Linked DNA regions of Homo sapiens: region 1 is linked to region 2. Evidence: promoter capture Hi-C in 16 types of primary human blood cells and fetal thymus (Javierre and others, 2016). All regions are on one chromosome and are shown on one strand. The core of a region is centred on a gene start or on the middle of the fragment in contact, and the rest is flanking DNA. Distances in the headings are between cores, read along the strand shown. Region 1 holds the start of LOC124900396 (small nucleolar RNA SNORA69). Region 2 holds the start of BORCS6 (BLOC-1 related complex subunit 6).

What was found. Contacts are between HindIII fragments. The CHiCAGO score rates a contact against its expected background, and 5 or more counts as called.
Region 1: a fragment that was not itself captured here is called in contact with the fragment with the promoter of BORCS6 in region 2 in 1 of 17 cell types (megakaryocytes); the score reaches 6.5 in megakaryocytes.

The regions. Positions count from the first base shown.
Region 1 is chr17:8,325,047-8,330,758 of GRCh38, reverse strand. It overlaps LOC124900396 (small nucleolar RNA SNORA69), which reads right to left and starts at 1,176; the gene lies at 1,040-1,176. The HindIII fragment of the contact is 1,610 bases long and covers 2,366-3,975 here.
Region 2 is chr17:8,188,063-8,193,938 of GRCh38, reverse strand. It overlaps BORCS6 (BLOC-1 related complex subunit 6), which reads left to right and starts at 3,759. Exons shown (of 1, transcript NM_017622.3): 1 at 3,759-5,594. The coding sequence starts at 3,799. The coding sequence ends at 4,872. It overlaps LOC124903913 (a long non-coding RNA gene), which reads left to right. Exons shown (of 2, transcript XR_007065604.1): 2 at 1,439-2,664. RefSeq lists enhancers at 1,383-1,482, 3,300-3,945, 3,688-3,967, 3,946-4,592, 5,731-5,780 and silencers at 4,078-4,127, 4,328-4,387, 4,458-4,507. The HindIII fragment of the contact is 3,696 bases long and covers 2,668-5,876 here.

The DNA.
Region 1 (5,712 bases), core at 1,921-4,420, 140 kb before region 2:
ACAGAATGAGATCCATCTCAAAAAAAAAAAAAAAATGGTTGACCCAAGCTAGATCCTTCCAGAGTTCTGCCCTGGGACTTTGTAATTGAAGTCAAGTGCAAAGTCGGTGGTGAAACTATGAGGCTGAACTATGAGTCTATGAGAAATTCCTTTCATTCTGGGGGAATCCCACTCCTCTGCCCACTGACCCCCGCCCCTACCCTGCTGATTCTCAAAGTATTATTTCAGAATCTACATGCAAATAATACTTTGAATATTACATTCAAAGTATTAGAGTCACTTAACTAATACTTTGTGATACCCACATATATGTATGTGTGAATGTATCTGTGTGTATGTGTACGTACATATATAATGATATGTAGATGCGTATATATACACACATATAAATGTTATCCATGAATCATATATAAGTACTACTACACTAACAGCTTTAAACATCTACAATAATATATTTTATAAAGGGCATAATGAGTAGAAATATGGTACCGGGCGTGGTGACTAATGCCTGTAATCCCAGCACTTTGGGAGGCTGAGGTGAGCAGATCACTTGAGGTCAGGAGTTTAAGACCAACCCAAACAATATGGTGAAACCCCGTCTCTTCTAAAAATACAAAAATTAGCCAGGAGTGATGGCACACACCTATAATCCCAGCTACTCAGGAGGCTGAGGCAGGAGAATCACTTGAACCCAGGAGGTGAAGGTTGCAGTGAGCTGAGATCGTGCCACTGCACGCCAGCCTGGGCAACAGAGCAAGACGCCGTCTCAAAATAAAAAGATTAAAAATATGAAATCTTTTTAAATATTTATTTATCGTCCCCATGGATCATCATATATATGCTGCTTCCAGAACACTTTGAATATATCCAGAACTCTCGAGTGAGACTGTCAGATGCAAATGCTGTCTCTGCCAATTGCTAGCTCTGTGAACCTGAAATACTTGACCTCTTTGTGCCTCAGTTTCTTCTGAGAGAATGAAACCAACATGCAACGTTCTGTATTTTCATTCTGGTATTCTTTTATTTATTTTTTCCTTAGAATTGTCCATGTCAATCTGTCGTGATTTTACTCTCACAAAGACAAATCAAAAATCATTAAAACAGCTTTTCTTTCAGCAGCATAATGATGGTATTTAGTATTTCACAAAATGAAGCACTGTAATTCCAGCTTGCTTTTCACTCTGACATTCTAAATGCCCAATCTAGTCTTTTTTTTTTTTTTTTTTTTTTTTGAGACAGCGTTTCACTCTTGTTGCCCAGGCTGGAGTGCAGTGGTGCCATGTTGCCTCACTGCAAACTCCGCCTCCCGGGTTCAAGCGATTCTCCTGCCTCAGCCTCCCAAGGAGCTGGGATTGCAGGCATGTGCCACCACACCAAACTAATTTTTGTATTTTTAGTAGAGACGGGATTTCACCATACTGGTCAGGCTGGTCTCGAACTCCTGACCTCAAGTGATCCACCCGCCTCGGCCTCCCAAAGTGCTGGGATTACAGGCGTGAGCCACCGCGCCCGGCCTGGTCTCGTCTTAAATAAAATGGCAAGCCATGATGAGGACCAAATTGAAGCAACTTTGGCGAAGTTACCTATTGTAACAAGCAGGCCGACTTGAGGTGGACCTGCCCACCTCAGATTTGCATCCTACCATTTGGGAATTCATTGCGTGATCCACAGAGTCTGAACAGGAAGGCACACAGGAGAGGAAGAGCTGCCAGTGAGATAAATGGCCTCTCTGGAATAGCTAAGAGTACAATTGTATTGTGGATTATCTGAATCAGTTAGGACTCTGTAGCTAATAAAAGAAAGGAGATTCAAACTGGTTTAAGGGATAAAGGGAATTTAATGACCTATAGAACTGAAAAATCCAGGCTGGTCTCAGTGGCTCGTGCCTGTAATCCCAGCACTTTGTAAGGCCCAGGCGGGCAGATCGCCTGAGGTCAGGAGTTTGAGACCAGCCTGGCCAACATGGTGAAACTTCATTTCTACTAAAAATACAAAAATTAGTGGGGCATGATCGCAGGCGCCTGCAATCCCAGCTACTCAGGAGGCTGAGACAACAGAATCACTTGAACCCAGGAGGCAGAGGTTGCAGTGAGCCAAGATCATGCCATTGCACTCCAGCCTGGGTGACAGAGTGTGACTCCATCTAAAAAAAAAAAAAAAAAAAAAAAATTAGCTGGGCATGGTGGCGCATGCCTGTAGTCCCAGCTACTAGAGAGGCTGAAGTATGAGAATAGCTTGAACCTAGGAGGCAGAGGGTTGCAGTGGGCCGAGATCGTGCCACTTCCTTCCAGCCTGGGCAACAGTGCGAGATCCTGCCTCAAACAAACAAACAAACAAAAATAACTGAAAAATCAAGATAAAAGCTTCAGATGAGACTTGATCCTGGAACTCAAGTGATGATAACAAGGACCTGGCTTTCCCCTTGTCTCTCCATTTCCAGTTTTGTGGTGTTGGCTCCTTCATCAGGCTGTATCCAGTGGCCTCCCCAGCAACTCCAAGCTGCCTCTCACTGCACTAAAATGGCAGCCACTGATCCAAACCTTATATCCTCACACTGCAATGTCCAGGGGAAGAGAGAATGGCTCATTCAAGTGGCTCTTGGGTGGGTCTCGAATTAACTGTCTCTGAACTCATTGATCCAAATTGGGACACATACCCATCTCGACCCAATCACAATAACCAAGGGTTGTCGTAAATCAAGGAAGAGTAGCTGGGCGCAGTGCCTCCCCTGTAATCCCAGCACTTTGGGAGGTCGATGGGGGTAGATCATGAGGTCAAGGGTTCAAAACCAGCCTGGCCATATGGTGAAGCCCCGTCTCTACTAAAAATATAAAAAATTAGCCGAGTGTGGTGGCGCACGCCTGTAGTCCCAGCTACTCGGGAGGCTGAGGCAGGAGAATCGCTTGAACCCAGGAGGCGAAGGTTGCGGTGAGCCGAGGTCACGCCACTGCACTCTAGACTGGGTGACAGTGTGAGACTCCGTCTAAAACAAAAACAACAACAACAACTCAGGGTCACTTTCAAATCCAATTTTTAGTCAATATTTTGTATTCTTTATTGTTAAGGTTCCCCAAAAGTCTGGATTCAATCCCAACGCTTTCTCACAGAGGGCAGCTTCAGGTTTCTAACAGTGGACGGAGTGAGAGAGGCTTCGGGTCAGCGGTGGTTGTGAGGCAGTTTGGGCGCAGCCCACGGCTTCATGCCCCGCGGCGGGGGCACGTGCAGGCACCAGCTTGAAAAACTCCATCGGGCGTGGAGCTGACCCATTCGGGTCCGAAGCCAAACCTAGTCGGATCAAGCAGCTGAACGCAGGCCCCGGGACCTGGTGACTGCCGTTGCGACCTCGAGAGTGCTGCGGGTGGGTGGGAAGGAGGAGTGGCTAGCTCTGGGGACGTCGGGCAGTGTTCTGAACAGCGGGAGCCAGTGCCTCAACTTCCCCAGGATTCTTCCGCGGGAGCAGCCCACTCCCATACTCCGCCCCGCGTGGGAGGCGAGCGCTGAGAACCAGGAGACACAGCCAGGCCAGGAGACCCCAGAGTCCAGCCAGAAGACGTGCTGAGACCCCGCTGCAGGAAGCCCTATGGCCGCGCTGCGCTCACTCACTGAGTCCGGGTCTCCGGCAGAGAGACAGGGGCAGCCCCGCGGGAGGGGCGGGCGCGGGGCCAGAGCGGGGCCTGGCCACGTCCGGGAGGATGAACGGAGCCCCGCTAAGGTCGGGAGGACTTCGAGGAGCTCCAGCGCTCTGTTCCCCTTGGTGTCGCCCGAGGCTGATGGAGGGTGGTGAGACCGTGGCTTGGAGACGACGTGCTGGGGAGCAAGGTCGGGAGCCCGCCAGGCTCGCGGTGGAGCTGTCGCTGGAGAGGCACTGCTGCACCGGGACGGTGGGCTGGTGGGCTGGCCACCCTGGAGAACCTGAGCCTGCAGTTACCTCTGTAGCTGAACCTGCGAGTATGGAGGGTTTAGGAAAGAGAAGCTTTCCGAGATGGCTGGAGAGCCAGCCAGGCTGAAGGGCTCCGGAAAGGATCACAGGAAGTGGGCTGGAGGGTTCCTTGCGGGTGGAAGGAGGAGGAGAGAGCTAGTGAGCAGGCTTGGGGGCCGGGGCGTGGGGGGAAGAGGGCGAGGCTCCTCTCTTTCCTCTGTTGCTTGTGGGCATGATTGCAACCCCCACCCCCGTTTATCTGCGATGTTGGCCACTAAGATCTTGACCCGGAGCCCACAGAAGGCCAGCTCAAAGAGAGGCCCGTGCCCTTTACTATCTGCCTTATCTTGTAGGAAAAGAAAAACTTTTTATCTGAGGGGGGCAAGGCTTTTAAAATTATCAGGCCCATAGAGAGGATCGCTTGAGCCCAGGAGTTCCAGACCAGCCTGGGCAACATGGCAAAACGCCGTCTCTACAAAAAATACAGAAATTAGTCGGGTGTGTTGGCTCCTGCCTGTGGTCCCAGCTACTCAGGAAGCTGAGGCAGGAGGATCGCTTGAGCCCAGGAGCTCGAGGCTGCAGTGAGCCAAGATCGTGCCACTGCACTCCCGCCTGGGTGACAAAGCCAAATCTTGTGACAAAAAAAAAAAAAAAAATCAGGGCCAGAGAGGAATTAAAATGAGACAACAGTGACATCCCATTACCCCCTTTGAGCTAGGTATTCACCTCTTTAACTGCTTGCATTGGCTTGCTCTTGCCATAAGTAGCTATGAATTAACCTGGTAATGCCACACTGGACACTATAACCCACCCCCTATAGCTTAACAGTATATAGCCAATCACTAATCAAAGAGCTTCCTTTAAACCAATGAGAATTCCTAACAACTTTGTATCAGCCCACAGCCCACTCCCTGTCCCCCTTTTTTGCCTTTGAAAACCTGCTTGTAACAAAGCCCTAATGGAGCTCATATCCAAGGTTACTTGGGTCTGAGTCTTCCTGGCAGCCGTCCTCCCTTTGTCTTTCGTTTGTTTTTTGTTTTTTGAGACAGAGTCTCGCTCTTGTCACCCAGGCTGGAGTGCAATCACGCGATCTTGGCTCACTGCAACCACTGTCTCCTGGGTTCAAAGGATCCTCCTGCCTCAGCCTCCCGAGTGGCTGGGATTACAGGCGGGCACCACGACACCCGGCTAATTTTTTGTATTTTTAGTGGAGACGGGGTTTCACCATGTTGGCCAAGCTGGTCTCAAAGTCATGACCTCAGGTGATCCACCTGCCTCGACCTCCCAAAGTGTTGGGATTACAGGCGTGAGCCACCATGCCCGGCCCCCTTGGGCTCAAGTAAACTCTTTCAACCATATTTTGTGCCTCAGCCTCTTCCTTTTAGGTTGACAATTGACTCCCAGAATATGGAGGCTTCAGCTATGAGGAGCAGGGCCACGGGTGAAGAGTGTCCACACTGACTCAGAGAAAGGTCCCCAACTGGGGCCAGCTTTCCCACCCTGTCGCCTCAGGCATCTCCCCCCGGGGACGCCTGCACCTTTCCTGAGCCTGTGGAAATGTTGGTTTCTTCCACCTCCCCAGCATGATAGACTGTGAGGGAATAAGGTGATAGTGGCTCTAGGACTCCCCAGCTGACTCAGTGAACCTCTCTGTACTACCCCCACCAGCATGCCTGGAACGCAGACAGGGCACCGCTGAGAGGTTTCTCCCATGGGCCCTCCTACGCCACCTATGAGGAAGTTGCAGGAGGCAACCCAGAGGGGCAGGAAGAACACAGAAGGGAGGGGACACT
Region 2 (5,876 bases), core at 2,510-5,009:
GATCACCTGATCTCAGGAGTTCAAGATCAGCCTGACCAATATGGTGAAACCCCCATCTCTACTAAAAATACAAAATTAGCCAGACGTAGTGGCACATGCCTGTAATTCCAGCTACTTGGGAGGCTGAGGCAGGAGAATTGTTTGAACCTGGGAGGCAGAGGTTGTAGTGAGCTGAGATTGCGCCACTGCATTCCAGCCTGGGCAACAAGAGCGAAACTCTGTCTCAAACAAACAAATAAAAACATAAAAGCATTCTTAGCTCATGGCCGTATAACAACAGGTGTTGAGCTGGATTTGGCCCTTGGGCTATACTTTGCTGAACCCCACTGTAGTGGACACTGTGGTAGCCTCCTGACAGCCCCTCCTGCCTTCCCATTATGTCGCAACTGTTTGAATTTGGAAGGAACTGACCCATCCCTAGCTCCAGGAGGAGCATAACTCTTAACCTAATCAGTTAATTCTTTTTTTGAAATAGGGTCTGGCTCTGTTGCCCAGACTGGAGTGCAATAGTCCGATGATAGCTCACTGCAGATTCAACCTTCTGGGTTCAAGCAATCCTCCCGCATCAGCCTCTACAGTAGCTGGGACTCCAGGTGTGCAACACCATGTCTGGCTAATTTTTTTTTTTTTTTTTTTTTTTTTTTTTGAGACGGAGTCTCGCTCTGTTGCCAGGCTGGAGTGCAGTGGCACAATCTCGGCTCACTGCAACCTCCGCCTCCCGGGTTCAAGTGATTCTCCTGCCTCGGCCTCCAGATTAGCTGGGATTACAGGTGCGCGCCACCACACCGGGCTAATGTTTTTGTATTTTTAGTAAAGGCGGGGTTTCCCCATGTTGGCCAGGATGGTCTCGATCTCCTGACCTCGTGATCCGCCCACCTCGGCCTCCCAAAGTGTTGAGATTACAGGCGTGAGCCACCGCGCCCTGCTGATAATTTACATTTTTAAAGGATCATTCTGGTTCTCTATTGAAAATAGACTGTAGAGAGAGGTGAGGGTAGAAGAAGTGAGACCATTCGGGAAGCAACTTCATTTATCCAGGCCAAAAATGATGGTGGTTTGGACCAGGGCAGAAACAATGGTAAGGATGAGAAGTGGTCAGATTCTGGATGTATTTTCGAGCAGAACCAACAAGATTTCCTAAAGGATTGGCCATGGATTATGACAGAAAGAGGAGTCAAGTACAACTCCAGGGTTTTTGGCCTTGGCCACTGGGAAGATGGAGTTGCCACTTACTGAGACAGAAGTCACCGTAGGAAGAAACAAGGTTTTGCGGGGGAGGTGGTGCGATAGGGGTGGGGCAAGGAACCAAATCACAGGAAGGATAAAGGTGGGGCTATCTTCAGGCTGGCACAGGAATTCAAACGCTCTCAGAACTCATGCCTCTTCATCTTTTGTCTCTGGTTCTCTTCCTTATCAGCCTCATTCTTTCCTTCTACAGACAGCGATCTCCTGGACATGAAAGATGGACAAGCTGATACCCAGCTTGAGCTCTCAAGAGAACAGAAAGGCGTCTCACACTCTCCACAAAGCTAGAAACAAACAACACTGTGGAGGATTTTTACTGGTCATACATTGGGTCATGTGCCCTTCCCTGAGCCAATCTGCAGTCAGAAGGATGAAGTACTCTAATTGGCCAGTTTTGGGTCACGTGCCTGTTCCTGGCTGTCATTGCACCAACACATCAGGGAATGGGGAGTTGAGGAGTGAGGAGCTTCCCCTACACAGAGAGACGGTGGGTAGCCCATTTGTCCGCTAAAACCTTCAAGATACATCTAGAATGCATCCATCCACATCGTGCTAGGCTGAGCTACTATCACCTGGTACTTGGAACCGCCTCCTCACTGGTCTACCGTCTCCCTTGCAAACATTTTCTACAACAGCCAGTAATCCCTAAACATGAATCCCATCACATCACTCTCTTCCTGTGCTCAGCTTCCCATTCTCAAGGGAAGTCCTCCCATCTTCTAAAGAATATCTACCTACCCAGCCCAATTATATATGAGCTTTTTAGGTTTTTTTTTTTAGAGCAAAGGAATGACAGGTTTTGTCAAGCTGCAGGTGACTATAAGATACAGACAGCTGACAATTGTGGACTCCTCAGGCGTGGTGAAAGATTGAGCTACTATCATTAGGGTTGGCTGGCTAGGACCCCGGCAGGCACCTGGGGATAGTAGTGCTGGGAAGTTCTGGGGAGTTGCACTTCTGAATGCTGGCATGACACTGCCTCAAGACATCTCTCTATCCAAATGGAAAAAACAACCACATCCTTTGTCAGCTAAGGAGAGTTAGCAAACTGTTTTTATTAAATACTGATGTCTGGCCGGGCACGGTGGCTCACGCCTGTCATGCTAGCACTTTGGGAGGCCGAGGCGGGTGGATCACTTGAGGCCAGTAGTTCAAGACCAGCCTGGCCAACATGGTGAAACCCCATCTCTACTAAAAATACAAAATTAGCCGGGCGTGGTGGCGGGCGCTTGTAATCCCAGCTACCCGGGAGACTGAGTTAGGAGAATCGCGTGAACCCAGGAGGCGGAGGTTGCAGTGAGCCGAGATCGCGCCACTGCACTCCAGCCTGGGTGACGGAGTGGGACTCTGTCTCTAAATACATAAATAAATAAATAAATAAATAAATAAATAAATAAATAAAAATACTGATGTCTCCAAGCTTTGGCTATGTGTTGCAATGTACAACCTTTCCAATGTCGCTGCACCATTGCATTTAGAGGAAATCTCCATTCCCTAACAGGAACTACAAGGCCCCCTGCATGACGTGGCCCCTGCTGCCTGTTCAGCTCCTTGGCTCGAAATCCTTCCCCTTATCTTGCTGATTTTGTTTTAGTCCCAATGTCTCCTGCCCCCTCACCTCAGTTTCTTGAATACGTCAAGACTTCTTTGTCTCTGAGAGGTAGCTCAAGTTTTCTTCTCTCTGCCTGGGGGGTGGCTGCGTCTTTTTGGTTCTTTTTAGTTAAAAGTCTCACCAAAGAGGTATTTTCCTGACCCCTTACCTAAACTAGTGCCTGCTCAGTTATATTCTCAATCATAACACTTTATTTCCTGTATAGCACATATCAAAATTTGTGATCATTTCATTTGTTGAATATTTTACCTCGTGGCAAAATCACACGCCATCCTCCAAGGGGCGAGACCCCTCAGTGTGAAAGGGGCAAGAGACACAGAACAAGAGTGACAAACGCATAGGAAAGCCCAGAGGCCGCTGCCTTGACCACAGTGGGTCGCTCTGAGCAGTTCAGTGGTTAGGTCTCTTAACCAAGAAAGATAGAGCAAACCATTCATGCTCATGCTGGACTTCTGGTTTCCTTCTTTTTAGTCAACTAGGTTCAACCCTGATGGTCCAAGAAGGATATGCCATTTTCATCCTAAGAACCTCTCTAGGAACCCCAAGTGGGCTCCCCACTTGGTATTTTTGCTAAGCAATCACTGTTGGGGGGGGTACAATTACAGGCAGAAAGGATCTGAGCCCCACCCCTCGGGACTCAGGAATTTGAGGACCTTGGTCTTTAAGATCTGCCCCATCAGCTTTCAGAAAGGGCGGGGCGACGGGAGCAGCTGTCACCTCCTTCTCTCCACCCTGCCGGCGTTCACGTGTGTTCCGCTGTGCAGTAACAGCTCTTCTTCCGGGACTTCCTGGTCGCCGCGACCAATCAAAATGCTTTTCCTGTCCTTACCATTGTCAGCCGCTGCCAATCGGCTCGCCTCTACCAACGCCCCTTAAAGGCGCAGCCACTGCCTCCGGAGCCGGGGCGAACCAATTCCTCCGTTGCGGCCCCCACCTGCAGTATGGAGTCGTCTCGGGGGCGGCCCGGGCCCGAGACGGACCTTCTGGCTGTAGCGGAACATCAGGCCCTAGTCTTTGGCGGCGGGCCGGGCCGAACGTCCTCTGAGCCGCCCGCAGGCCTCCGGGTGTCCGGGGAGGAAGAGACCGAGAACGTTGGGGGCGCGAACCGCCACCCCAGGACGTCCCCGAAGACGTCAAGCTGCGGCGTCGTCCACCGGCCGGAACGGGAGGCTCTGGAGAACGAGCCCGGCCCTCAAGGGACGCTGTCTGGGGCCGGGAGCCGCAGGGGGGCGCCGGGTGCAGAGCACGAACCTTCCCTGTCCTCCCGGCACAAGAACCCGGCGCCGCCCGAGGGCAAGCCCTCCTCCGGGAGGGACTGCCGTCGAGGGGGACCAGGCGGCGGGATGGATGTTGAGCAGCAGGAGGAGGAAGACAACGACGAGGAGGCGGCCGCGGGCAGCAGAGCCGGCCGCTCGTTCTCCAGCCGTCTTCAGGACAGCCGCAGCCTGGACGGGCTGAGCGAGGCGTGCGGTGGCGCCGGGTCCTCAGGGAGTGCCGAGTCCGGCGCGGGCGGCGGACGCCGCGCCACCATCTCCAGTCCCCTGGAGCTCGAAGGCACAGTGAGCCGCCACGGCGACCTTACCCACTTTGTCGCCAACAACCTGCAACTCAAGATCCGTCTGAGCGGCGCGCCTCCACCCCCGCCTTCTGCCCCTGCGCGGCCCTGCCCAGCGCCTGCACCCACACCCACACCGGCCATTCCCCCAATCGACCCCGAGGTGCTGCGGGATCTGGAGCGGTTGAGTCGGGAGCTGGGAGGCCGGGTGGACCGTCTGCTTCGCGGTCTGGGTGGCGCGGTGCAGGAGCTGACGGCGCTGAGCGTGGGTTGCATCCAGACCTACCGCGATGCTGTGGACTCCTTAGGTGAAGCCGTGGACATGAGCATCAAGGGCATGTACACCCTGCTGGCGCGCTGCGAGGAGCTGGAGCGGGCTCTGCAGCCGGTTCAGGGGCTGGCGCGCCAAGTCCGGGATATCCGACGTACTCTGGAGGTGTTGGAGGCCCTGTGCAAGTGACCAGGAGGACAGGAGAGGCCGGTCCTGGCCAGGGCAGGGCCCAGCAGGACCCTAAGGACTCTTCAGGGAGTCCTGGTGGGAAGTGCCCACTGAGGGGAGGCCTGTGTGTTGGAGGCTCTTCCAGATGCGTTCAGCTGGCCCGTGCCCACTCGCTGGGCCTTAGGCTGGTGTATGTGGGGAAGTTCTAACGGCTCTCCTGGTGGGAAGGGATGTTGCTCTGCTTGTATTCAGTTGGCCATCTGTAGCTACCCTGTTCTTCCCAACTCTCCTCCCTAGCTAGAGCACCAGCCCTGGGAACACGGGGCTTTAGGTCTGCTTGAAGGTGAGGACGTGACTCCCACATGTAATCAGGAGAAAGGGACAGAGGAAGCCCCAGCCCCCACTGTGGCTATCCTGACTCCAGTGGCCACATCTCAGGTGCCAGGGGCTGTGGGAGCTTGTGCCGTCCTTGGCCAAACACCCCGCAGGCAAAGATGCACCCCTGCTGATGGAGAGCCTTCTGCTTCTGCCCTCTGGCCCTCTACCATACCACTTCCCCAGCCAGAACCGGCGTGCAGCTAGGAGGAATGGGTTGCACGGCGGAGGGGGTGAGGTGGGAGGCGTCTCACTGCTCTCAGGGTTCAGGTAGAATGTTGCTGGTTTTGAAGCTCACCTGTTGTGGAGTGTTCTAATCAGTTTTGGCTTTCTGAGTTTTTGTGGAATTAAAGTGCTGCTGCTGCGAAGGCTGAGGCTGAGTCTGTGTGGGGTTGCAGTGATTAATAAGCCAAAGGAATGGGAATGAGGGTCGGTGTTGTTCACGCAGCTCCCTTGGGGCTGGTGCTGGGAGTGGGGTGGGGGTGGAGATGTCTCAGGCTCCGTGGGGAAAGATATGGTTCTTGCTCTTAAGCATCTGGTCTGAGGGGAAATGTGAGGACACAGATAATCACTCACAGGGGCCCAGAGATCCGGTAACCACAGAAACGTAAAAAAGATGCTCTAGAAGAGAAGGGGAAGAAATTGTCTTC